Regions from separate parts of the Homo sapiens genome. Here all the other regions are linked to region 4. The links are contacts of gene promoters, found by promoter capture Hi-C in blood cells and fetal thymus (Javierre and others, 2016). All regions are on one chromosome and are shown on one strand. Each heading gives the region's core, a stretch centred on a gene start or on the middle of the fragment in contact. The rest is flanking DNA. Distances are from core to core; before and after follow the strand shown.

Region 1 (6,472 bases), core at 1,253-3,752, 540 kb before region 4:
CTTGGCTCTGTCGGTTGAACAGAGAGAGGAACACATGACTTCTGTGTTCCTGGATTTTTACAGATGCAAGGAAATGATTGCTTTTTAGGTTTCTGAGTCCGGTGAGTTGATTGCTTCTTTGCTATCTGTGGCATTTTCTTTTGAAACCTGGGCAATTGCCAAGGCCTGGGGTCCACAAGTCCCAAAGCCGGGAAAATTTGTGTTTTTATGCTGGTTTTATGCATGGTAGGCTTAATGGGACCTTCAGTAGAAATCACAAAATTCTGAGGTGTCTTCTTACTTGTCTTGGTCTTTGAATCCAACTTACTCCTATGGGAATTCATCTTATGCTTGTCATTTTCTTGGTGTACAGGTATGTTGACACTATGGTTGTTATGAATGGTTCCCTTTCTTGTTTGGAGGCTTGGTTTGGCTATCACTGGTTCCTTGGGGCTTCCATCCACAGGGAAGGTGATGTGGATAAGAGGCACCATCCTACTCATTTCTGGTTTGGCTCTTTCTGCTATTGATATTTTTATGTTTGTCTCCATGCTGCTACAACCTTCTGGGAGTTTATCAATGGGGTCATCAAAGACTACACTGGATAAGCTTTTAAGTACAGTACACTCTTCTAAAATATTGTTTGGTTCCATTGCTTCATTTTTATGTAATGAAACTCTTTTTGAAGCAGCTTTATTATTTCTCATCTCTTCATCCTGGCTTGGAGTTATTTCTGAATGCTGGGTTTCTTGGAACTTGCTTGGAATGGTACATACTATTTCTGGATCTTGTTCATAGTTTTTGGCTACTGAACTCTCATTCTTTCTTGATGAAAGATATTGAGAGTTCTCTTCTTCAGGTTTTCGCGTTTTACTACCATGGCAGTCAATATCCTCTTCCCTAACTGCAGGAATATTGCCTTCCTTCAAATTCTCAAAAGACACCAAAGACTGCCCTTTTTCAAAGTGAGTGATTTCAATTTTGTTACATTCTTCTATTTCCTTGGATTTCCAGTTTTCCTCCTTCTCCAGGCATTGCCTGTGATGGTTAGTCTTAGGAAAAGAGCACATGTTTCTTGACCAAATGAAGCCATCAGAAGACCTGAGAGTCGGATCCATCAACGACTTAACTAGGGCTCCCGGAGGCTCGTTTGATGGGCTGAGCTCATCAGATTGACGAACAGACACTGAGAGCTTAGGCACAAAAGATGTGAGACTTGGAATGTTTCTTTCTTTTTCTTTTGGAAACTTGTGATTTTGGGGGATAGTAAGGACACCAGATCGCGTGGGCAAGAGTGACAGTGGTGGCAGAAGGAACTAAAAGGAAGACAGAAAAAGCTGTGAATGCAGAAACATATATAAATATCACGCTAACTCGTTTAAAGTAGTCTAAAGAGATTATAATATCCTCTTAAGGAAGGCTTTTAAAGTTCAAAGCTATCCTGGAAATCACAATTCTTTTTTTTCTTCTTGAGACAAGATCTCGCTCTGTCACCCAGGCTGGGGTGCAGTGGCATAATCACAGCTCATTGCAGCCTTGACTTCCTGGGCTCAAGCGATCCTCCCACCTCAGCCTCCCAAGTAGCTGGGACTGCAGGCATGTGCCACTATGCTCGGCTAATGTTTAAATTTTAGTAGAGACAAGGTCTCTCTATGTTGCCCAGGCTGGTCTCAAACTCCTGGCCTCAAGCAATCCTCCCACTTCTGCCTCCCAAAATGCTGGAATTACAGGCATGAGCCACTATGCCTGGAAAGATCACAATTTTTAAAATTAAAACCTCATTCCCAATATTTTTTTTAGAACCAATTTAAAACAACACGTTTTAAAACCAGGATTATTATAGATGTAAATATTCATGGTTATATATTTTTAAATGAAGGCCCTATAATGTAAATGGTAAAAATTTAAGATAAGAAGCATTTTATTTCTCTTCTTTTTTCTTTTTACTTTCCATAGAATTGATTTAAGATTTTTGAAATCCCACTGAAAACAGTTTAAAATTGCTGTTAAAATACCTCAAAAATTACCAGTTATTGACTAACTCAGAATTCATATCCGAAACACAACTACTCACCATCGTTTTGCTGAATTAGTTTGTGAATGAAATGTACAAAATTTCATTTTTGTGGATGACAGGCAAATGGATGGCTTTCCTTTCTCCTTTGCCCTCTAGTTTCAAACTAAGCTAGTTTTTCCTTTCTCCTTTGCCCTCCTCTAGTTTCAAACTAAGCTAGTTTTTATTATCATCCTGTAGAGGTCAGTGTAACCCAATGTATAATATTAAACTTTGCGGGCAGTAAGCTATAAACTCCTTAACTTTATGCTTCTTTTCATTGTGGTCTTTTCCTGTGTATACAGATTCAATACCTATTTATATCACAATATTTATAGGCATGGGTCATGGGTAGTAATTGAGAAATGTATGTTTAATTTTCATTCTATTGCCACCTGTGTGTAAGAAGGAAGGAAATGGAACCTGACTCTAGAAACTTAGGCATTAAAAGTAGATGAGATGTAGTGTAGACCCCAGTTTTACTGTCTAGATGATTTTCCTCATTTCTCAAAAATGACTTAGGACATAAAGGCAGATTCATCCAGTGCTTAACCATCTGCCTAGTAACAGCCATTACAATTTTTTAGGTCAATAAACTCCTTTTACAATGCTAAGCAGTACCTATGCATAAGTATTTCTCAAAGGCTCATAGGAAAAGAAGGGTCAGGTAGTTGAGAAACTAAGAATTGCAAATATCTTTCCAAAAACTTATAAATTAGACAGCTAGGAAAATCTTTCCACCACTGGGGGAAAGAAAAGAATTGCCTAATTTCTAAATAGGTTGAAAAAAGACAAATTAAAATATGTCTGGCCAGGTGTGGTGGCTCACACCTGTAATCCCAGCACTTTGGGAGGCCGAGGCAATCGGATCACTCAAGGTCAGGAGTTCAAGACCCACCTGACCAACATGGTGAAACCCCATCTCTACTAAAAATACAAAAATTAGCTGGGTGTGGTGGCAGGTGCCTGTAATCCCAGCTACTCAGGAGGCTGAGGCAGGAGAAACGCTTGAACCCAGGAGGTGGTGGTTGCAGTGAGCCGAGATTGTGCCAACTGCACTCCAGCCTGGGCAACAGAGTGAGACTCTGTCTCAAAAAAAAAAAAATGTCTAAGGGAGCTACTCAGCTCATTATGTAAAGAACAGAAACACTCCAGAAAAGCACTGCACATGGCAAGGCATAATTTTCCCAGGAACGATTTGCTACTCTAGGAACTATATGTGAGTTGTTGTTTTTCCAAGAAATACAGTTGACCCTTGAACAACAGGGCTTCAAACTACGCAAGTCCACCTATATGTGGATTTTCTTCCTCCTCTGCTACCTCTGTGACAGCACGACCAAGCCCTCCTGTTCCTCCTCGTCCTCAGCCTATTCAACATGAAGACAGTGAGGATGAAGACCTTTATGGTGATCCACTTCCACTTAATGAAGAGTAAATATATTTTCTCTTCCTTATGATTTTCTTTTTTTGTTTTTTTTTTTTGTTTGTTTGTTTGTTTTATTTTTGAGACGGAGTCTTGCTCTGTTGCCAGGCTGGAGTCCGGTGGCATGATGTCGGGTCACTGCAACCTCCACCTTCCAGGTTCAAGCAATTCTCCTGCCTCAGCCTCCCGAGTAGCTGGGACTACAGGCACCCGCCACCATGCCCAGCTAATGTTTTGTATTTTAGTAGAGACGGAGTTTCACCATGTTGGCCAGGATGGTTTCGATCTCTTATCCTCGTGAACCACCCGCCTTGGCCTCCCAAAGTGCTGGGATTAAGGCGTGAGCCACCACACCTGGCCCCTTATGATTTTCTTAATAACATTTTATTTTCTTGGCTTTATTGTAAGAATACAGCATATAATACATATAACACAAAATGTGTGTGTTAATCAACTGTTTATGTTATCTATAAGGCTCTGGTCAACAGTAGGCTACTGCAGCCATGTGCGGTGGCTAACATCTGTAACCCTAGCACTTTGGGAGGCTAAGGGGGAGTATTGCTTGAGGCCAGGAGTTCAAGACCAACGTGGCCAACATAGCGAGACCCTGTCTCTAAACAAAACAAAACAGAACACCCAGCACTTTGGGAGGCCGAGGCGGGCGGATCACGAGGTCAGGAGATCGAGACCATCCTGGCTAACATGGAGAAACCCCGTCTCTACTAAAAATACAAAAAATTAGCCGGGCGTGGTGGCGGGTGCGTGTAGTCCCAGCTACTCGGGAGGCTGAGGCAGGAGAATGGCGTGAACCCGGGAGGCGGAGCTTGCAGTGAGCCGAGATTGCACCACTGCACTCTAGCCTGGGTGACAGAGTGAGACTCTGTCTCAAAAAACAAAACAAAACAAAACAAAACAAAACAAAACAACCGGTAGGCTATTAGTAGCTAAGTTTTGGGGGAATCAAAGCTTATGTGTGGATTTTTGACTGTGTTGGGGACATCAGTGACCCTACCCCCTGCATTGTTGAAGGGTCAAGTGTAATTGCTGAGGATTTGGTTCTAAATTAGTGAATAGAGTTGTTTGGTTTTAATTCTCAAGTCAAAAATGCTAGCACTAATCTTACCTTGATGCTTCGGCCACTGTACTTCATATGAGAGGTCGAAAACTCTACAACAAGAAAAACAATAACTGGATATTCTTAGTAGTAGAAAGAAAACAGTCTCAAGCCAGAGTCTGGGGATGGAGTAATACAGATGCTAAGGGGTCTGAGGAAAAGTTGTAGAAATTGGAGGTTTCCCCTGTGGAATTCACACAGAGGTGGAATCATCACACAAAACTTCAGGCTGCTGCCACTAGCAGGGGTTGCTGTTTTATATTTATATCTCTATTCTGACAGAAAACCTGAGATCTCTGGACCAGAGAGCAGACCATTTATCACTCACAGAACATTGTAATGCCAGTTCCCCACAACCCAGTTCCTCACAGGGCAACGTGATGAGAGCCGGGTGTTGACCTGCACAGCTGGCAGAGCTGCATCACAGGAGGGAGCTCTGGAATGATGAGACTCAGGTGGTATATTGGGTGGTGGCACTTTAGCCCATCTTTCCCTCCAGAGAAGGAGAGAGCACTTTACTATGAATTGTAAGCAAATGCCTCCAGGAGAAAGATGACTCTATGTTTTATTACCCTAGAATATAAGCAAACAGCTTTTGGGAAAATCAGCCTCTAAATTTCTCTGGAGCAATACACTAACTTCGGAGGCGTTTCTGACATTCAGTCATCTTTTAACTTAGTTTCCTAGTGTTTTTTGCTTAGAAAGCCTGAACTGTGCAGAAATGTGAAAATATTCTTGTATAAGTGTCTCCCAACAGTTGTTTAAACTAGATCGACCATAAACTCTGAAAGGTGAGTGTGAGGAAGACTCACCTAGGGAACGAGATGGGACTTACTAGGTAGTATAAAACTTACAAGTTGTTCTCTTCTTACCAAAAAGTCAGAATGATCCCCAAAACCCCATGAACCACCACCACCACCACTTCTGCATAGTTTGGACTTTCTAAAGCTGAAGCCAAAAGCTCCAGTGTCTCCAGGGTCAAAACAGTTCACAGAAATGGATGATGTGGGACAGGAAGACACAGCAGTAAATCGAGATCATATGCCCAACTAAAGGGGCATCATTACCCAGCTCGCAGTGATGTTATCCAACCCAGATAGATAGTCCAGCCCTGCTACATCTTCCAAAAGAAGCCAGAGAGCTGCAGATTTTTTTTTTTTGAGACAGGGTCTCGCTCTGTCGCCCAGGCTGGAGTATAGTGGCATGATCTCAGCTCGCTGCAACCTCCACCTCCTGGGTTCAAGCAATTCTCCTGCCTCAGCCTCCCGAGAAGCTGGGATTACAGGCACCTGCCATCATGCCCGGCTAATTTTTTGTGTATTTTTTATTTTTTAGTAGACACGGGGTTTCACTATGTTGGCTAGGCTGGTCTCGAACACTTGACCTCGTGATCCACCGGCCTCGGCCTCCCAAAGTGCTGGGATTACAGGTGTGAGCCACCGCGCCCAACCCAAGCTGCAGGTTTTATGTGAAATCTCCTTCCCCCACCCTTGCTTATTTATTTAAAATTTTTATATTTTTAATTTTTTGTATAGACAGGGTCTTACTGTATTGCCCAGGCTGGTCTCAAACTCCTAGGCTCAAACAATCCTCCCTTCTTGGCTTCCCAAAGTTCTGGGATTCCAGGTGTGAGCCACTGGGCCTGGCCTCTCCTCCCTTGTTTTTCAATGTTGTGAGGGTCAAACAAATGTCTGTAGGTCCATTTCAGCCTCAGGCTGTCATTCTGAAGTTTCACACGGAGAGAAAAAGACTTCTAAGATTTAACACAGTAGAAAAGCCAATCCCAGGTGAAAAACAAGTCACCTAAGAAGAGGACCCCAACAGGCAACAGGAGGGGGCACAGGCATTCCCCTTGGACACAGCTGGCCATGGCACCTCCCCTTCATTCTTAATGCATTTACTC
Region 2 (5,824 bases), core at 3,034-5,533, 520 kb before region 4:
ACTAAGAAAGTTCCTCTCCTCTGGTTTTTCAATGGTATATGAACTTCCTAATATCTTTCAAAATTCCCTTCCTTTTTAACCCAACCAAGAGTAGGTTCTTGTATACCTGCAACTACAAATCCTGATGAATTTATACTGAATTAAAATATTTTTAAGCCCATTAGTTTTAGGGAATAGGCTCTCTTGTTCACTCATGAAAACAGTAAATTTGTAGGCTCAATTTCTAGTCTATAAGATTTGTGTCTGTTATGTTCTGAGAAAATAGTGTTTGTTTGTTTGTTTGTTTGTTTGTTTTGAGACGGAGCCTCACTCTGTCACCCAGGTTGGAGTGCAATGGTACAATCTCAGCTCACTGCAACCTCCGCCTCCCGGGTTCAAACGATTCTTCTGCCTCAGCCTCCCGAGTAGCTGGGATTACAGGTGCGCACCACCACACCCGGCTAATTTTGTATTTTTAGTAGAGACGGGGTTTCACCATGTTGTCCAGGCTGGTCTTGAACTCCTGACCTCAGGTGATCCGCCCACCTTGGCCTCCCAAAGTGCTGGGATTACAGGCGTGAGCCACAGTGCCCGGTCCATTTAAAGAGATTTAAACCGATATTTAAAATGAATATAATGGACAATAATATCTAAAACACTTTTATTTCAGAATTTCTGATTAGAAAGAGTAGCTAGCTCAACTGAAGTCTCTATCAACTGTGAGATGCAATTTTATCAGGAAGAGAATTGCTTCTTCCAAATGTGTAACTCAAGTTGTTAAAAGCTTAAAACTGAAATAACTTAGTGGAGATGCCTCATAAGTATTATGGCTCCCATATGAAAACTGAAAATATTGCAAATCAAGTTTAAAAGAATGACTAACATCCCAAATGGTGAGTTATCTCCATATGGAGCAGAATAAATGAAATATTTAACCTCCTGGAAGGTGCTTGGGACACCATTAGGCTTCTAAGAGCTTGGCTTTGAAGTCTATGAAAGTCGAAGGAGGACTGCAAGGACCGTTCTGAAGGGTTTCGGGGTTTATTTTCTTTCTGTTAGCTCTTTCAGGCTTAATGGTTTTCATAATTTTAATGGTTACTAAATTACTCTCGGCCCTCAGCCTGGGGAGGGAAGATTCCCAGTGGGCGTGAGAAAGGCAGGCGGCTGCCCAGGAGAGGGCAGCATCGCACCACCTCCCGGAGGAGACGCTACTCGGGAGAGCTGCAGCCTTCTGAGAGGTGCGAAGGGATGAGAAACACGGGCATCAAAGAGGGCGGCTTCCCTGGAGTGCTAGAAATAGAAGCCAGAAGATTGCCCGGGAGAAATTGCAGCAGTTCAAATAAACATTTACTTTAAGAAGGTTATGGATGAATAGATGACAGACAAATGGGATAGCCGTGGCAACTATGCTCTGAGGCGAGAATCTGCAAATACCTTGTGGTCTGTTAAGTGCAAGGGCACTTACGGTGTGACAGGATAACATGTTTGAAATGGGTGGTGTTCTGGAAGATTCCAGACTTATGGCCTTGTAAATAAAAGACCGAGACTTGGGGACTTTCAGGTCTCGTACACTCCCCCACCTTCCCCTCAGGGACAACGGCTCATGGAGACACGTGTGGTTCCGGAAGGGAACCGATCACTGAAGCCGCTGGAAGATTCTGAGAGGAAGAAATTGGGGAAAGGATGTTATCAGACAAAAAGAAATGGACAGGGAATGGGTCGGCTGAGCTGGAGTGAGGTGGAATAAAAGAGCCAGAGAGCATTTGCCTATTCTGGCCAGTCAAGCTGCCTAGACCCACTGATTCAGATATGGACCAAAAGGTAGTATTGTGAGTGGTTTTTCTTCTCCTTTGGGCTTTTTCTGTGTTTTCAAACTTATTTATTATAATTTTTTTAACTTTTATTGCAAGAGTTAAGCTCAGGGGTACAAGTGCAGGTTTGTTCCATAGGTAAACATGTATCATGGGGTTTGTTGTACAAATTATTTTATCACCCAGGTATTAAGCCTAGTACCCATTAATTATTTTTCCTGATCCTCTCCCTCCTCCACTCCCTCTACCCTCTGATAGGCTCCAGTGTATGTTGTTCAAACTTCTACAATAAGCCCTTCTGAAATTGGAGAGAAGCCCATATGATAATGTTATCTTTGTAAACACATCAAGGAGTAAAGCCCAGTACCTTCTGTCCTGGGTTGCCAGTCCTGTCTACCACCACTGGGATCTTCTTCTTCATTAACCAGTGTGGAATGACTGCAGTCACCATCTTGGTCGAACTCCTGCAATATCATAAAATTCAAAACTCAGTTATTAGTTATTCGATGTACCAGTTTGTTGGCAGAGTGAATGTTGATTTTTCTGGGCTAAAGATTTACACCATGGATTCCTTTTAAATTGGATAAAGTATTTAGGACTAAAATAATAAGAAAGTATCTGCCCTTGGAGCACTAGGCTCAGACAGTCATGGTTGTGATTAATTGCATAATCAAAAATGAGGAGCAAAGCTGAAATCACATCGACACATAGAAACTCAGTATTTTATACTTTATCATCTCAGTGCCCAGGCTGCTAAGCTGCCCCAAATTCCATCTGGGTAGGTAACTGGAAAGAATCCTTTGGCCACAGTCACAGTGAACAACCCCAAAGGAGCATGATCTTTTCCATAATGCCTCCCTGGGGCATCATTTACATATGGCAAGAATGGAAATCCCTGCCCCTGTGGAAGCTACAGATATAACCCTAGACTGAAAGGAGGCAGCAAAGCTGATTAAAGTCTTCCCTATGACGGCGTTCTGATCTAAATCATGGTGCATAACCTCTTAAACTTCCTTTTCACTCTCTAGAAAATAATCATTATAGTTGAAAACCAACTTGATTTACAAAAAGTACTCCAAACATTTTAAAGAAGAAATGTTTTCTTAGTAGAATTCATTGTTTTTGATAGTTTCCTTCATTCGAAGTTATAGCTGATGATTTTGTGCCTTTAAATTTCTAGAACCATGATAGATCCAAGTAATAGTTAAAACATCCCATCACAACCCGAATGTTACAACTATCTGTCTGGTTTCTATGATCTAGGTGGACTACCTATTTAAGGGGACTGATGGACAATAAGTCTTTGCCCTAAGTGCTCAAGCCTGTCATCTGAAATGTCAGAGAAGTGGCGAGTCACAAAAATTCTCTGATAGCTCATTTATTAATTCCCAAGAGAGCTAGGAAATTTCTTGCTTTTCTCTCCTTGTTCATTTTAATTGTCGTAGCAAATAATAAAAGTTGGCCAGGCATGGTGGTTCACTCCTGTAATCCCAGCACTTTGGGAGGCTGAGGCGGGTGGATCACTTGAGCTCAGGAGTTCGAGACCAGCCTGGGCAACATGGCAAAACCCTGTCTCTACTGAAAATACAAAAATTAGCTGGACGTGATGGCACACCCCTGTTGTCCCAGCTACTTGGCAGGCTGAGGCAGGAGGATGGCTTGAACCCGGGAGGTCAAGGCTATGGTGAGCTAGGGTCACGCCACTGCACTCCAGCCTGGGTGACAGAGTGAGACCCTGTCAAAAGAAAGAAAAGAAAAGAGAGAGAGAAAGAGAGAGAGAGAAAAAAGAAAAGAAGAAGAAAAGAAAAAGGAAATAAAAGTAAAACCTGGCCAGGCATGGTGAGTCACACCTATAATCCTAGCACTTTGGGAGGCCGAGATGGGTGGATTGCTTGAGGCCAGCCTGGACAACATGGTGAAGCCCCATCTCTACAAAAAATACAAAAATTAGCCAGGCATGGTGGCACGTGCCTGTAGTCCCAACTACTCAGGAGGCTGAGGTGCGAGGATCATTTGAGCCATAGGAGGTTGAGGCTGCAGTGAGCCATGATTGCACCACTGCACTCCAGCCTGGGCAACTGAGTGAGACCCTGTCTCAAAAAAAAAAACCAGAAGTAAAACCCTCCATTTATACAGTCATTAAAAATATTTTAGGTATTCAATCATAATAACTTAGTTGTCATACCTTACTTTTATTCAGCAGTTTATACTTAAACATTGTTTTTTAATTTTTATGGGTACATAGGTATATATATTTATGGGATACAGGAGATATTTTGATATAGGCATGCAATGCATAATAATGACATCAGGGTAAATGGAGTATTCATCACATCAAGCATTTATCCTTTGTGTTACAAATGATTCAATTATACTTTTAGTTATTTTTAAACGTACAATTAAATTATTACTATAGTCACCCTGTTGTGCTATCAGTACTAGTTCTTACTCTTTCTTTTCCTTTTTTTTTCTTTTTGTTCTCTCATTGGGTTGATTATTCATTCTTTCTAGCTATTTTTTTTTGTACCCATTAACCATCCCCCTTCCTCCCTACTCCCCACTACCCTTATTAATACTTTCTAAAGCGTTTTCTATCTCCTGGCAAAAGTTGGGTGCCCTACCTCAGACTATCCTGGTTGTCAATGGCGGATGGGTTCACTCAGCTCCTAGGCTGTTGTCAATTTCACTGCTTAACCTTCTCTGTATTTCAAAAATTCTACCATTATCTGGCAAATTCCTCCTCCTTCCTATCAAATCACAAAGGGGGATTTATTCTTCCTAGAACATACAAAAATACAAAAAAGTATTTTTTAAAGCAAAATTTAAAAAATCACCTATAACCTGACAACCAAAGAGCAAACACTGTTAACACAGGAATCATATTTTCTTTGTGTTTCTCTTAAGTATTTAAAAATATAGTTGCATCACATAATTTTTGTATCTGGCTTTTTCACTTAAGTGTAAATTCATAAGCAATTTACTAAGTAAGTGTCATTTTAATTTTAATGGAATTTAAAATTTCTTTCCTTCAACAAATATCAGAGGGTCATAACAGTACTTCTTTTTTTTTTTTGAGATGGAGTCTTGCTCTGTCGCCCAGGCTGGAGTGCAGTGGTGCGACCTCAGCTCACTGCAACCTCCACCTCCCGGGTTCAAGAGATTCTCCTGTCTCAACCTCTCGAGTAGCTGAGACTACAGGCACCCGCCACCATGCCCGCCTTATTTTTGTATTTTTAGTAGAGACGAGGTTTCACCATGCTGGCCAGGCTGGTCTCAAACTTCTGACCTCGTGATCTGCCTGCCTCGGCCTCCCAAAGTGCTGGGATTACAGGCGTGAGCCACCACGCTCAGCCAATAGTACTTCTTTAATAAGCCCCGTTAGTCTTACAATGTAACTCCCATGATGCTTAGTAGGTAATTTAAAATTCTTCACTCTTACACATAGTATTATTAAATATTTGCAACTAATACCCCAATTTTGCATTATTTCTTTAGAGTAGATCCCTAGATATGGAATTATTGACCCAAATACTATGAAAAAGTTGTTTTTTTGTACACACATTGCCTTAAAAGTAAAGTTTATCCCTATTTATAATCCACCAGCAGTGCATGAATGTGCTATATCATATCTTCTCCCTTATCATCATTCCTTTTCATTTAATTAATTAATTAATTATTATTGTTTTCCCTTCTTTTCACAGGTGTTTATATGATTATTGTTATTATTTTGAGGCAGTGTCTCACTCTGGCACACAGGCTGGAATGCAGTGGCACTATCATGGCTCACTGCAGCCTTGAACTCCTGGGCTCAGGTGATCCTCCCACCTCAGCCTCCTGAGTAGCTGGAACTATAAGTATGTACCACCATGCCCTGCCCCTTTTCATTTTATTTTTTATTTTTTGAGACAGAGTCTTGCTCTGTTGCCCAGGCTGGAGTGCTGTGGTGCAATCTCGGCTCACTGCAAACTCCACCTTCCAGGTTCAAGCGATTCTCCTGCCTTAGCCTCCCAAGTAGCTGGGGTTACAGGTGCCCA
Region 3 (5,753 bases), core at 850-3,349, 570 kb before region 4:
TATGATACTAATTTGAGAATCACATTCTGATACGTTAATATCAGAAATCAGTGAGCAACCTAATTGCTGTAAGCTGACATACATGGAAGCCGAAATCAAAAGGTTGCTTTTGTTAGTTTCCCTGGAGCATCTATTTTTGTAATACATTTTGCCAGTGGGACTGAAAAGCTCAAAATGTTTTAGACCTAATATCATACATTAATTTTCTGCTCTGCAGTGTCAATTTGGGCACAGCCAGTTTTTACCTCTGTGGCACCTTCTTTATAATTTACTGTTACCTATTCTGCCTGACAGATTGATTAAGTAGGTTGATAAGATCCATCGAAGATTGAATGGCTAGGAGTAATTCTGTTCTCGTATAGGCAACTTAACTTCACTGTGGAATCCATTTATCTCAAAGTTTGAGGGCTGTCTACTTTATTTTCAAGTTTGGGGCGGAAACTCAAAATCCCGAGCATTGCCACTTTAGTAGTTTGTTTGATTTGCCTATTGTTTAATAATGAGTACATTCTTATTAAGTGATGAGTACATTCTTAATTTTAAGGTATGTTTTTTTCAAGCAGCTTCATTTTATTAGGAAAAATACATACTCATTTGTTGTAAACAGTGATTGTGGGGTTTCATTTTCTGAATGTACTCAAAACTCCCAACAACAATTGAACAGGATGTTTGCTAATAGAAAATCTAAAACAGGAATATGTGTATATGGCATGAATTAGTCATTGACTTTAAGCTTCTTATCCATACAAGGAACTAATAAAATGTTTATTGACAACATAAATCCAAGGCTCTAACATGTCTTAAGTTAATGTGAATCAGAAGTAACTTTGAGGTGGGGCGCAGTGGCTCATGCCTGTAATCCCAGCACTTTGGGAGGCCAAGGCAGGCGGATAACCTGAGGTCAGGAGTTCAACACAACCCTGGTCAACATGGTGAAACCCTGTCTCTACTAAAAATACAAAAATTAGCCGGGTGTGGTGGTGCATGCCTGTAATCCCAGCTACTCGGGAGGCTGAGGCAAGAGAATCGCTTGAACCCAGGAGGCAGAGGTTGCAGAGAGCCCGAGATCGCACCACTGCACTCCAGCCTGGGCGACAGAGCAAGATTCCTTAACAACAACAAAAACAGAAGTAACTTTCAGTCCCTGGAAAATGTGAGATCTCTAGTATAATTGACCCTTTATCCAAGTAATTTCATGTATCATTCAGGAGTGCAGGCTCTGGGATCAAATGGTCCATGCTCTAGTCTCAGCCCTACCATTTAATAACAGAATGGCATTGGGTGAATTACTTGATCTCATGCTTTTTCTTCCCTACAAAGTGTTAGTAGTAGTACCTGTTCATCATAGAGTTGTGTAAGGCTTGGATGGTCAAGGAAGGCTAGATAGAATAGCATTAAAGAGAATCCTAATTGAGGGGTAGATGTGGGATATTGGAATGATGAAGGCCAATCCAGGTGTGTAACTGGAACATATTAAATACTGCATGCCCGCTGTGTCCAGAATTCTCTTAAGTTGTTCATTCTAATTTCTGTTTTAAGATTTTCTTGTCTAACCTCTTGCATCACTCCCATAAAAAGCACAAAGAATAGTTGCAGTACCCATTTAAAATTTTTTATTTTTTGAGACAAGTTCTCACTGTCAGCCAAGCTAGAGTACAGTACAGTGGTGTGATTTTTGGCTTACTATAGCCTCCGCCTCCCAGGCTCAAGCGATCATCCAACCTCAGCCTCCTGAGTAGCTGGGACTACAGGCATGTGCCACCATGCCCGGCTAATTTTGGGGGGTTTTTTTGTGGTTTTTTTGTTTGTTTTGTTTTGTTTTGTTTTGTTGTTGTTCTTGTGTTTGGTAGAACGGGGTTTTGATACGTTGCCCAGGGTGGTTTCAAACTCCTAGGCTCAAGCAATCCGCCCACCTTGGCCTGCAAAAGTGCTAGGATTACAGGTGTGAGCCACCATGCCCGGCCCCTTCAAAAATATTTAAGCATAAGCTGTTCTTTAATAAGGCTGCTCGCCAGCTTCCCTCTCCTTACCAGCAATTTCCCTGCACCTTCCACTTGAAAGAAAATGAAAGCTAATTGCAATAACTTTGATAAAGTAGAATTAGGATAGAAAAGTCGCTTCTTTTAAAATAGATTTTCAGGCCGGGTACGGTGGCTTATGCCTGTAATCCCAGCACTTTGGGAGTTTGAGGCCAAGGTGGGCGGGTCACCTGAGGTGAGGAGTTCGAGAACAGCCTGACCAACATGGCGAAACCCTGTCTCTACTAAAAAATACAAAAAAATTAGCTGGGCGTTGTGGTGCGCGCCTGTAGTCCCAGCTACTCAGGAGGCTGAGGCAGGAGAGAATCGCTTGAGCCTGGGAGGCAGAGGTTGCAGTGAGCCGAGATAGCGCCACTGCACTCCAGCCTAGGCGACAGAGCAAGACTCCATCTCAAAAAAAAAAAAATTTTTTTTTAATTAAAAATAAAACATTTTCAGCCTAAATGTAACATAAATATTTTTTGTATCACAGTTAAGAGATTTGTCTCACTGGTGCTGACACCAGTAAGGGCTTGTTCTATTAACATAATAAATTGGATGGGTTTTAACTTTACAAAGTGAGTAATTCCATCTAACCAAACTCATCTAAGTCCATTGTTTATTCCTTCACCCCTGCCCCCTGCACTTTTCAATATAATAAATTGTATGTTTTTATTTTAGCTGTAGCATATGGCCTGCCTATTCCTTCCCCTCAATACCACCTCCCAAAACAATGTAGGGCCTCACTGACAAAATATTTTTATTATATTGCCATGAAATTAAGAGGCTTACTTAGACCTTTCAAATGTTCAGACACAGTTGAGGAGGCCAGTTTTCTATAGTCTTTCACGTCAGCCTGTTAGTGACTGCTTTATGGATGAATTCAGCCATGGATTTTCATAATGTCGTGATGTCCTGTCAATAGGAGAAAGCACTATCCTCTATAAACTTGACAGTGTAATGGCATATACAAACTTTTTTTTAAACTTTATTACCAGTAGAGAGAGAGGCTGCTTACACCAGAGATTTTTTAATTGGCAGAATCACCTGGAAAGATTTTTAAAATGCAAGTTTCTGCATTTAAATAGCTGCTTTAAACTGAATTAATACTTGTAAGTGCAGCTCGTATGAAGAAGAAAGACGGCCTGGTAGGTGATGGTATGCAGCTTTTGGCTGCTCCTTGAGCAGATTAAGTGGGTTATTATCTTGGAGCTACTCATTACACAGTGTACGACTAAAGTAGGTTAAAGTTAAGGAGATGCTGTAGATCTACTTTTTAGAACTTGGGGGTTAAAATGTCTTTGGTTGAGCTTGGGCCCAGAGCATACAGGAATTTAGTACATAATAAGATGAGTTTTCAATGTGATTGAAAACTCAGCGGTTGTGCCTTGGGAAAAGGGTGATGCTCATGGAAGGGAGGACGGTATTACTGCTAGGTGAACAATGAAAAGCTTTTCACACCATTAAAGTACTCAAAATAATAAAGGGAGGACGATACTACCATCCCAATCAGCAGCTAGAATGAAATGATGTGCCTTTTTCTGCTAAAAGCTCAGTGAATGCTAGCCATCCCAGCCCCAACCTACCTCCACTCCCAACCTCCTTTCAGACCCTCTTCAAAAGGAAGAGAGCACACATATGGGCAGTGATAATGAAGAGTGTAATTCCAAACAATTGTTCATGTCTTAAACACAGTGAATAACAAAAACACAGAAGCTTTGAGGACCAAGGCTTGCCTATTGAAAACTTCAGCTTTTTTTTTTTTTTTTTTTTTGAGATGGAGTTTCGCTTTTGTTGCCCAGGCTGGAGTGCAGTAGTGTGATCTCGGCTCACTGCAACCTCTTCCTTCCAGGTTCAAGCGATTCTCCTGCCTCAGCCTCCCAAGTAATTGGGATTACAGGCACACGCCACCATGCCCAGCTAATTTTTTGTATTTTTAGTAGAGATGGGGTTTCAGCATGTTGGCCAGGCTGGTCTCCCAACTCCTGACCTCAAGTGATCCACCTGCCTCGGCCTCCCAAAGTGCTGGGATTACAGGGGTGAGCCACCCTGCCTGGCCAAAACTTCAGCTTTTTGAAGTTTCTGTTCAATATTCCAAAATTGTCTTCAGTACCCTTATATTTCAGTAGAATAGGAATAAACTTGTTAACACCAACTTCTTGTGTCCATTACGGTGATCTCTATACACAGTATTAACAGGTCTTACTCTTTGCCCTTTCCCCATAGGGTTTAACAGGCTTGATTGTAAATAGTTGCTTTAAAATCCAATATAATATTCAGATTTGAAAGAATGCTGAAGATCCCTCCAAAATGGAAAAGGAATAAGCCCTAACCTTTCAAAATTATGTTGTTTCTGGTCATGTTGAGATACAAGTAAGTAAAATAAAGGACATATTCTTCCCTTAATTTCTTAAATATGAAAAAAAAATTTGAGAAAAGTTATACCCACAAAGACTCATCTAATGTTACATGTCCAGAGTAAAATCTGTTTTTACCTCACCTGGACAGCATTTCACATTTATTTCATAAAAACTAAACCAGCTTTGTTTTGACAAATCCTGATACCAGTATTAGAATACTCCTAAAGTTAATTTTTAGTTGTACCAGCTTGAAATGACGGCAGCCAATAAAAATATCTGTGGCTATAGCTTAGAGCAATAGGTGCTGGCTGGGCGCGATGGCTCACGCCTGTAATCCCAACACTTTGGGAGGCCAAGGCGGGTGGATCATGAGGTCAGGAGTTCAAGACCAGCCTGGCCAAGATGGTGAAACCCCATCTCTACTAAAACTACACAAATTAGCCAGGCACAGTGGCAGGTCCCAGTAATCTCAGCTACTTGGCAGGCTGAGACAGGAAAATTGCTTGAACCCAGGTGGCAGAGGTTGCGGTGAGCCAAGATCACGCCACTGCACTCCAGCCTGGGCAACAGAGTGAGACTCCATCTCAAATAATAATAATAAAAAAAAAGAACAATAGGTGCGAAGTTTAGTGGATGAGTGAGATCAACAGCAATGGAAACCTTATAAAAAATGCTTAATCCTGGCTGGGCACGATGGCTCACGCCTGTAATCCCAGCACTTTGGGAGGCCAAGGCAGGTGGATCACTTGAGGTCTGGAGTTCAAGACAGCCTGGCCAACACAGTGAAACTCCATCTCGGCCAACATGGTGAAACCCCATTTCCACAAAAAATACAAAAATTAGCTGGGCGTGGTGGTGGGCAACTGTAATCCCAGCTACTTGGGAGGCTGAGGCAAAAGAATCACTTGAACCCAGCAGGCGGAGGTTGTTGCAGTGAGCCAAGATAACGCAACTGCACTCCAGCCTGGGCAGTAGAGTAAGACTCAGTCTAAAAAAAATATTGCTTAATCCACCAACTTAAAATGGCTTGTAATACTACTAACTCATCCATGCTCACTTTTGTGAGGTCTACTAATGTTCTGGGAATGGCAGTATTTGAAGGATGACCTCAGCAGAGGTAACTATTCAAATGAAATGAGCAAAGGTCTGTGGAAAAATCATCCTTCCCTTACCAGACCTAGCTTTTGTCCTACCAGCTGATTTAGACTTAGCTAGTTCTGCATATGGAAATGACCTGATTCACTGCAAATAGATTAAAAACTTCAAATCACTACAAATAAATTACAGAGAAAAGAGCCCAAGGTTTATGATGCCGCCTTAACTAGCACAATTTCTCAGAGACATCTGAGGAGTTTGGGGGCCCTCTGATAATGAA
Region 4 (6,225 bases), core at 886-3,385:
GCCCTTGAACTCTGAAGGAGGCATAAATCAGGGCCTTACGTGCTAAGATTATTAGGCTGTGGGCTCCATGTGGCCGATGAATAAAGGCATCTTTTTAGTGATGCCTTTATTCATCGGTGTATTATAGTTGGCACCCTGTAGTCACACGTTTTTTGTTTTTGTTTTTGTTTTGAGACGGAGTCTCGCTCTGTCACCCGAGGCTGGAGTGCAGTGGCGCGATCTCGGGTCACTGTAACCACTTCCGAAGTTGAAGCGATTCTCCTGCCTCAGCCTCCCGTGTAGCTGGGACTACAGATCCTACAGATCTCTGCCACCACGTCCGGCTAATGTGTGTGTGTGAGTTTTTAGCAGACACAAGATTTCACCATGTTGCCCAGGCTGGTCTCGAACTCCTGACCTCAAGTAATCCTCCCGCCTCGGCCTCCCAAAGTGCTAGGATTACAGGTCTGAGCCACCGCGCCTGTCTGCCACTCGTTTAATAAATGGTCGTTACTCAAAGAGTGGTGATGGGGCCACTCTTGATTATCAATCCTTCAAACAGAAAAGCCCTTTTCTGTGACTCTTTTCCTTCCAAGCTGACTTTAGAAGTGTGTTTGTGGCCGGGCGCGGTGGCTCACGCCTGTAATCCCAGCACTTTGGGAGGCCAAGGTGGGCGGATCACGAGGTCAGGAGATCGAGACCATCCTGGCCAACATGGTGAAACCCCGTCTCTACTAAAAATACAAAAAATTAGCTGGGCTGAGTGGCGCGCGCCTGTAATCCCAGCTACTCCGGAGGCTGAGACAGGAGAATGGCGTGAATCAGTGAGCCAAGATCCCACCACTGCACTCCAGCCTGGGGACAGAGCAAGACTCCGTCTCAAAAAAAAAAAAAAAAAGTGTGTCTGTAAATGTAGTTCAGAACTTCGGAGCCCTGTCTTTACAGTTCAAACTGACCACGCGAAGACTAAAGGCAGTAGAGGTACTTTCTACAAATTTAGCCGTGCAATCTAATAGCGAGCAGGCCGAGACGCCCGCGATTGAAGGCCGGGGTGGAGAAAGTAATAAGGGCCCTGGAAATTACCCCCATCCCATGTCACCCACTCTTTCTTAAAATGCCATTAAATTCCGTTCAACTTTTTATCTCCCATGCAAGAAACTAGCGACTTGCCAGCCACGCCACTTCCAGCCAGTCACACCTGGCGTATTCGCCGCAGAATCTCCAACTCCCGCCACAGGTTTGGGACGTGTCCGCCCCTAAGCGGAAGTGACGTTCAACGGGACAACGTGAAAGTAGATGAGTTTAAATACGTACTAATAATTTAAAACCCCTATGGTATTTTGAGGAAACTCTTCCGGCTACCCTTCTTCCATCACTTCTCTCCCGTTAGGGTTGCGAAAAGGGCTCTGTACAGCCTCGCGACAACTCGTTCTCCGCCCTAATTTCAAGTCATTCAAAACTCTGTCCCTTTTCATTGGCTGAAGCGGCGGCATGGGTACCTCTCAGGAACTACAATTCCAGCCAAGCACCGCGACAAGTGAACGGAGGAGAAGTTATGAGTAGGGGAAAAGCATGTTGGGAATCGTAGTCCGCTCCAGGCCGAAAAGAGCAATCACCCCGCCCTCCGCCACTGAAGCTGGAGAAACCAGGTGTTCGTTTCAGAACCCGTTAGCGCTAAGGGGAGGAGCCAACCCCTTAAGCAGCATGCCTCACTTCGCCCCACATGGAGGATAATTTTCCTTTACCCCTAAAAAGCACTATAAATACCCACTGAGGAGATCTGGTTGTCTTTTAAATACCTCGAGTCAGTAAAAACTCACGAAACTCCGCACCTCAGGCTCCAACTCGTGGGAAAAGGTAGCTCTTTTACAAGTGGGCAAAATGGCTGTCCTCCTAGTTTTACCATTGGTTGGCTTTTGCGTCCTTCAAGGGCGGTTACTTACCACGGATTGGTTCTTTTTCTCTTGAGGTTGGAGGAAGATTTGGCACGGCTCTCCGCGGCCTGGGAGGAGGTAAAGGGGTGGAGAGAAGACAGTTTTTTTCAAGCTTGATTGGGCAAAACTCATGTCACTCCGGGGACGTACAACCTATGAATAGTCGGCTGCCGCTCAAAGAGAACGAAGAGGCGGGGCTAGTGCGTGGTGGGAAGGGGCGGGATTCTGCCAGCCGCGGCTGCCGCTGGAGCCGGTGTCCGGGCTGGTGATGGGGTTAATTCCCTTTCGTAAGACTCTTACTTGCACCCACCCAGCCCCGCCGTCGCCCCGCCGCGCCGCGCTCCAACCGCCTCCTCCTCCTCAGTAACGCGGGTAAGAGATGCCCTTCCCTCCCCCGTCCAGCTCCCCGGGAATAACGCGCCTTGCTCCCCTCCCCCGCCCGCCAACCGGTAGCGCTAACGGAGAAGGAGGCAGGCAGGGGAGAGATGTGGTGTGTGGAAAGGTGGCCTTCCCCGCCGGGTCGTCGGCGCTTCAGCCAGGGCCTTCTGACGTCCCGCTGCTGCCAGCCCGCCGTTAGGTCGGGTTCCGAGTGAGCCAGGCTCGCCTGGCCCGCGGCTGCGGCTCCGGCTGCAGCTGCAGCCACTGCCTTGTGCCCACCGCCCCCACCCGGGGGCCATGTGAAAAGCAAACCCCTCGAGGCCTAGCGGAGGAGGCAGGGGAAAGGTTTCCGAGTCCCTGCCATGGCTGCTGCTGCTGCCTCCGCGGCTGCTCTTGCAGCCCCAGGGACTCGGGAGCCAGCCACAGCAGGCCTGCCAAGAGCGTGGTACTGCTCTCTCGTGTGGCTGGCGCCGGTGCCCCGGGCTCCCCCGGCCGCCCCACGGCCGCATCCCCTGGCCTTGCACCAAGAGAATTTTCAGCTTCGACCGGTTGGTAAAATGTAGGTACATTTTCCCTGTGGTACCAGAAAAAGCACAATGGGAATATTAAAAAGAAAGTTGAATGACTGTCAGTGCCACGGTCCCCCGGGATCAGATTTACACACGTTTTGATTCCTGAGCCTTAGGCTGCCAACAAATCTTTGTGGGCTTTGAAGTTTTTTGGTGTTTTGTTTTCTTTTGTTGCTGTGACTAGGTGCAAAGGGTGACTCTGTTGAGCTTGTTTTTATAAAGAAACTTAAATTATTGGGACTATCATGCTCCGTGTGTAATTGTCCTGGGATAGTTAAGTAAAAGGTGAAGAAGAGGTGCTTTCCAAATTAGGATTAGTGAACAGCAAATGGTTTTTCTAATAAAATTTTCTAAATATATATATATATATCTTCATGGTTATAGTTTACCTAATTGTAACTGTAAGAAACCTTTTTTAGCTTAAATATCATTGATGACAAAAACTTTTAAATGAAAAGATGATTAAAGTCAAACTGAAAGTCTACCCATTTATAATATGTGAAACAAGATCTTCTAAGTAATAGGATACCAGTCTGACAGGAATAATTGGACACGTCTCAATTTCTAAAAATTTGGCATATTTGGCTATTTTTAGGGCATTCTGTTATGATTTCTTCATCACATTTTGATGGAGTACGCTCGTCTTTTCAAATACCACTCTGCTTTTATGCCTGGAAGAATATGTCTTTAAATCATGGATTCTATAGTCTGTAGTAGACATAACTGTGATCAGAGATAAAATTCTAGGCCCATTTCTGAGGTTTACTTGTTAGCAGAATAAACTTGGGTTCTGAGGAAACATCTGAGTTTTGATCATTTCTTCAGGGTTTGAGAAGACTATGGTGGCTTAATGATCTTCTGTATTCCATAACTAGTACACCTAGTTACAGAATTGACATAGATACATTCAGGTCCTGGAGGAAATTTGTGGTATCTATTAAAAAAATGAAAATTGCCAGTCATGTAGTAGTCACCTGTAGTCCCTGCTACTCAGGAGTGTGAGGTGAGAGGATCACTTGAGCCCAGGAGTTCAAGGCCAGCCTAGGCAATATAGCAGAACATGGTCTCAAAAAAATAAAGAAATAAATACACAGCCTTGGAAGGCAAGTCCCCTGAGATCCCCACAGAGTTCCTGTAACATATATTGCCAGCTGCCAGCATAGTATTTTCCAGAACTTAAGAGTTAATTGATAAATTATACAATCGATACTTTCAGATCTTGGGTGATTTATATAGAGAAAGAGCTGTTGAAAATTTAGGAGTCTTCTACATTTTCTTCCTGGCTGTTGGATCCCTCCATGAACCTCAGTTCGGTTTCCTCATCTGTAAAATGAGGATGATAATGCTTAACTTAGGGAGTTATGAAAATTAGAGATAAATATATAATAGTGGCCGGGCGCGTTGGCGCACCTGTAATCCCAGCACTTTGGGAGGCTGGGCGGGCGGATCACCTGAGGTCGGGAGTTGGAGACCAGCCTGACCAACATGGAGAAACCCCGTCTCTACTGAAAATACAAAAAATTAGTCGCTCATGGTGGCGGGCACCTGTAATCTCAGCTACTCGGGAGGCTGAGACAGGAGAATCGCTTGAACCTGGGAGGCAGCGGTGAGCCGAGATCAGGCCATTGAACTCCAGTCTGGGCAACAAGAGCGAAACTCCATCTTAAAAAGAAAGAAAACAGAAAATTAGAGGTAAAGTATGTAAATCCCCTAGCATTGTGCCTGACACAGTTTGTGCAATAAATATTAACTGTTATTTTCATGCATATTTAGAGAATGGGTTTGTTGTTCATATGCTGAGGGTGTTGTTGCAGCCTTAGAACACATTCTGTTACTGAAGAGTACCATGGGTGTATTAATTTATATAGTGACTTAAGCACAGTTTGCGACTAGTTATTTTTGATTAGCTTATGGAAGTTTTTTTGACTTTGAATTAAAATGCAAGTGTCTGTGGAATACATTTCAAATGGATTATTGGGAATAAAAATTAGTGTACTCCATGTAGTGGTTAACTATTGTAATATCTTTTAAATTTTATTTAGCTGTTAAATGTTTCAAGCTCTAGTTTATATACTTGCTATCCATATTCATTGTGCTACCAGATGACATTTGAACTGTTTAATACAGAGTTAAGATTAAGCAAATCATTTGAAATTGTTACAACCATATGTGACTACAGTTTTGTTGCTGTTCTTTTTAATTCTCCTTATTTATCAACACTTGAGTGTTTCTTTTCTGTGAAACAACTTGTGAGAGGTGCTATTCCTTTCTCTTCAGAGGCATTTCTGAAAATTTACTGAGTCTTCACATATAATAGTGTTCTTGGAATTTGTATAGTTAAACAAATTTAAGGTTAGCATGAAGACAGTTATATTATGAAGTCTTTCTGACAGGAATGTCCAGTCAGGGTTCAAGACAAGCTGCACCTTATGCAAAATAACGAGGTGAGGTATATATATGGTGGGCCTCCGAAGTCATTGAACCTGGTACAAATGGGTGCTTCTCCAAAGAGGTCTTACATGACAGTAGCAATAGAAAATTATATAAACTTGAAATAAGCTTTGTCAAATATTATGCAGAAGATGTGCATTGCCATGCCTTGCAAGTAATAGGGTTTTTTTTCTTCTTTTTTGAACTGGTACTTTAATATACCTAATTACATCCATTTGAGTTAGTATTAAGTTTTAATTTCTCAGAAATAAAGTAGTGAAAATTGGTAGCAGTTTTGTTTTTCCCATTCTTGAGAATATTACAGTGATAAACAAGGCTTGATAGGTTTGTAAAATACTATTGCTATTTGAATTAAAAAATTTCACTATTGACTTTCCATATTCTATTGTAAATAAGTTGGGGAATTAGTGTGTCAAGGGGGTGTGGTAACAAATGGTAATGTAATTTTCAAATTGCTATTGCAGCACCAAACCACAGAATCAATACTCTGTCTTTATAACCACATTTGCATATAGGGATAATAATTTATTTCTTATAACTTAAGATAACTAAAATGAAGGGCCAGGCGGGGTGGCTCACACCTGTAATCCCAGCACTTTCGGAGACCGAGGCAGGCAGATCACAAGGTCAGCAGTTCGAGACCAGCCTGGCCAGTATGGTGAAACCCTATCTCTACTAAAAATACAAAAATTAGTAGGGCGTGTTGGCGGGTGCCTGTAGTCCCAGCTACTCGGGAGGCTGAGGCAGGACAATCACTTGAACTCAGGAGGTGGAGGTTGCGGTGAGCTGAGATTGCACCACTGCACTCCAGCCTGGCGACAGAGCAAGACTTTGTCTCAAAAATAAATAAATAAATAAATAAATAAATAAATAAATAAATAAATATGAGATGGCTGTTGTGAAGAGAAGGAAGT

Evidence for each region. The method cuts DNA at HindIII sites, captures the fragments that hold promoters and counts their contacts. A CHiCAGO score of 5 or more calls a contact.
Region 1: a fragment that was not itself captured here is called in contact with the fragment with the promoter of R3HDM1 in region 4 in 2 of 17 cell types (endothelial precursors and megakaryocytes); the score reaches 6.1 in endothelial precursors.
Region 2: a fragment that was not itself captured here is called in contact with the fragment with the promoter of R3HDM1 in region 4 in 15 of 17 cell types (megakaryocytes, naive CD4 T cells, fetal thymus and 12 more); the score reaches 17.9 in megakaryocytes.
Region 3: a fragment that was not itself captured here is called in contact with the fragment with the promoter of R3HDM1 in region 4 in 3 of 17 cell types (erythroblasts, activated CD4 T cells and non-activated CD4 T cells); the score reaches 7.4 in erythroblasts.

The regions. Positions count from the first base shown.
Region 1 is chr2:134,986,959-134,993,430 of GRCh38, forward strand. It overlaps MAP3K19 (mitogen-activated protein kinase kinase kinase 19), which reads right to left. Exons shown (of 13, transcript NM_025052.5): 9 at 4,579-4,622; 10 at 1-1,295. Among named protein-coding and RNA genes, the nearest start is that of MAP3K19, 57 kb to the right of the region's middle. The HindIII fragment of the contact is 3,833 bases long and covers 587-4,419 here.
Region 2 is chr2:135,003,278-135,009,101 of GRCh38, forward strand. It overlaps MAP3K19 (mitogen-activated protein kinase kinase kinase 19), which reads right to left. Exons shown (of 13, transcript NM_025052.5): 6 at 2,158-2,254. Among named protein-coding and RNA genes, the nearest start is that of MAP3K19, 41 kb to the right of the region's middle. The HindIII fragment of the contact is 7,045 bases long and covers 762-5,824 here.
Region 3 is chr2:134,958,562-134,964,314 of GRCh38, forward strand. It overlaps CCNT2 (cyclin T2), which reads left to right. Exons shown (of 9, transcript NM_058241.3): 9 at 1-781. Among named protein-coding and RNA genes, the nearest start is that of CCNT2, 43 kb to the left of the region's middle. The HindIII fragment of the contact is 2,736 bases long and covers 732-3,467 here.
Region 4 is chr2:135,529,349-135,535,573 of GRCh38, forward strand. It overlaps R3HDM1 (R3H domain containing 1), which reads left to right and starts at 2,136. Exons shown (of 27, transcript NM_001378107.1): 1 at 2,136-2,285. It overlaps ZRANB3 (zinc finger RANBP2-type containing 3), which reads right to left and starts at 1,870. Exons shown (of 21, transcript NM_032143.4): 1 at 1,779-1,870. RefSeq lists enhancers at 1,183-1,262, 1,613-1,882, 1,851-2,145 and a silencer at 2,113-2,302. The HindIII fragment of the contact is 3,394 bases long and covers 2,024-5,417 here.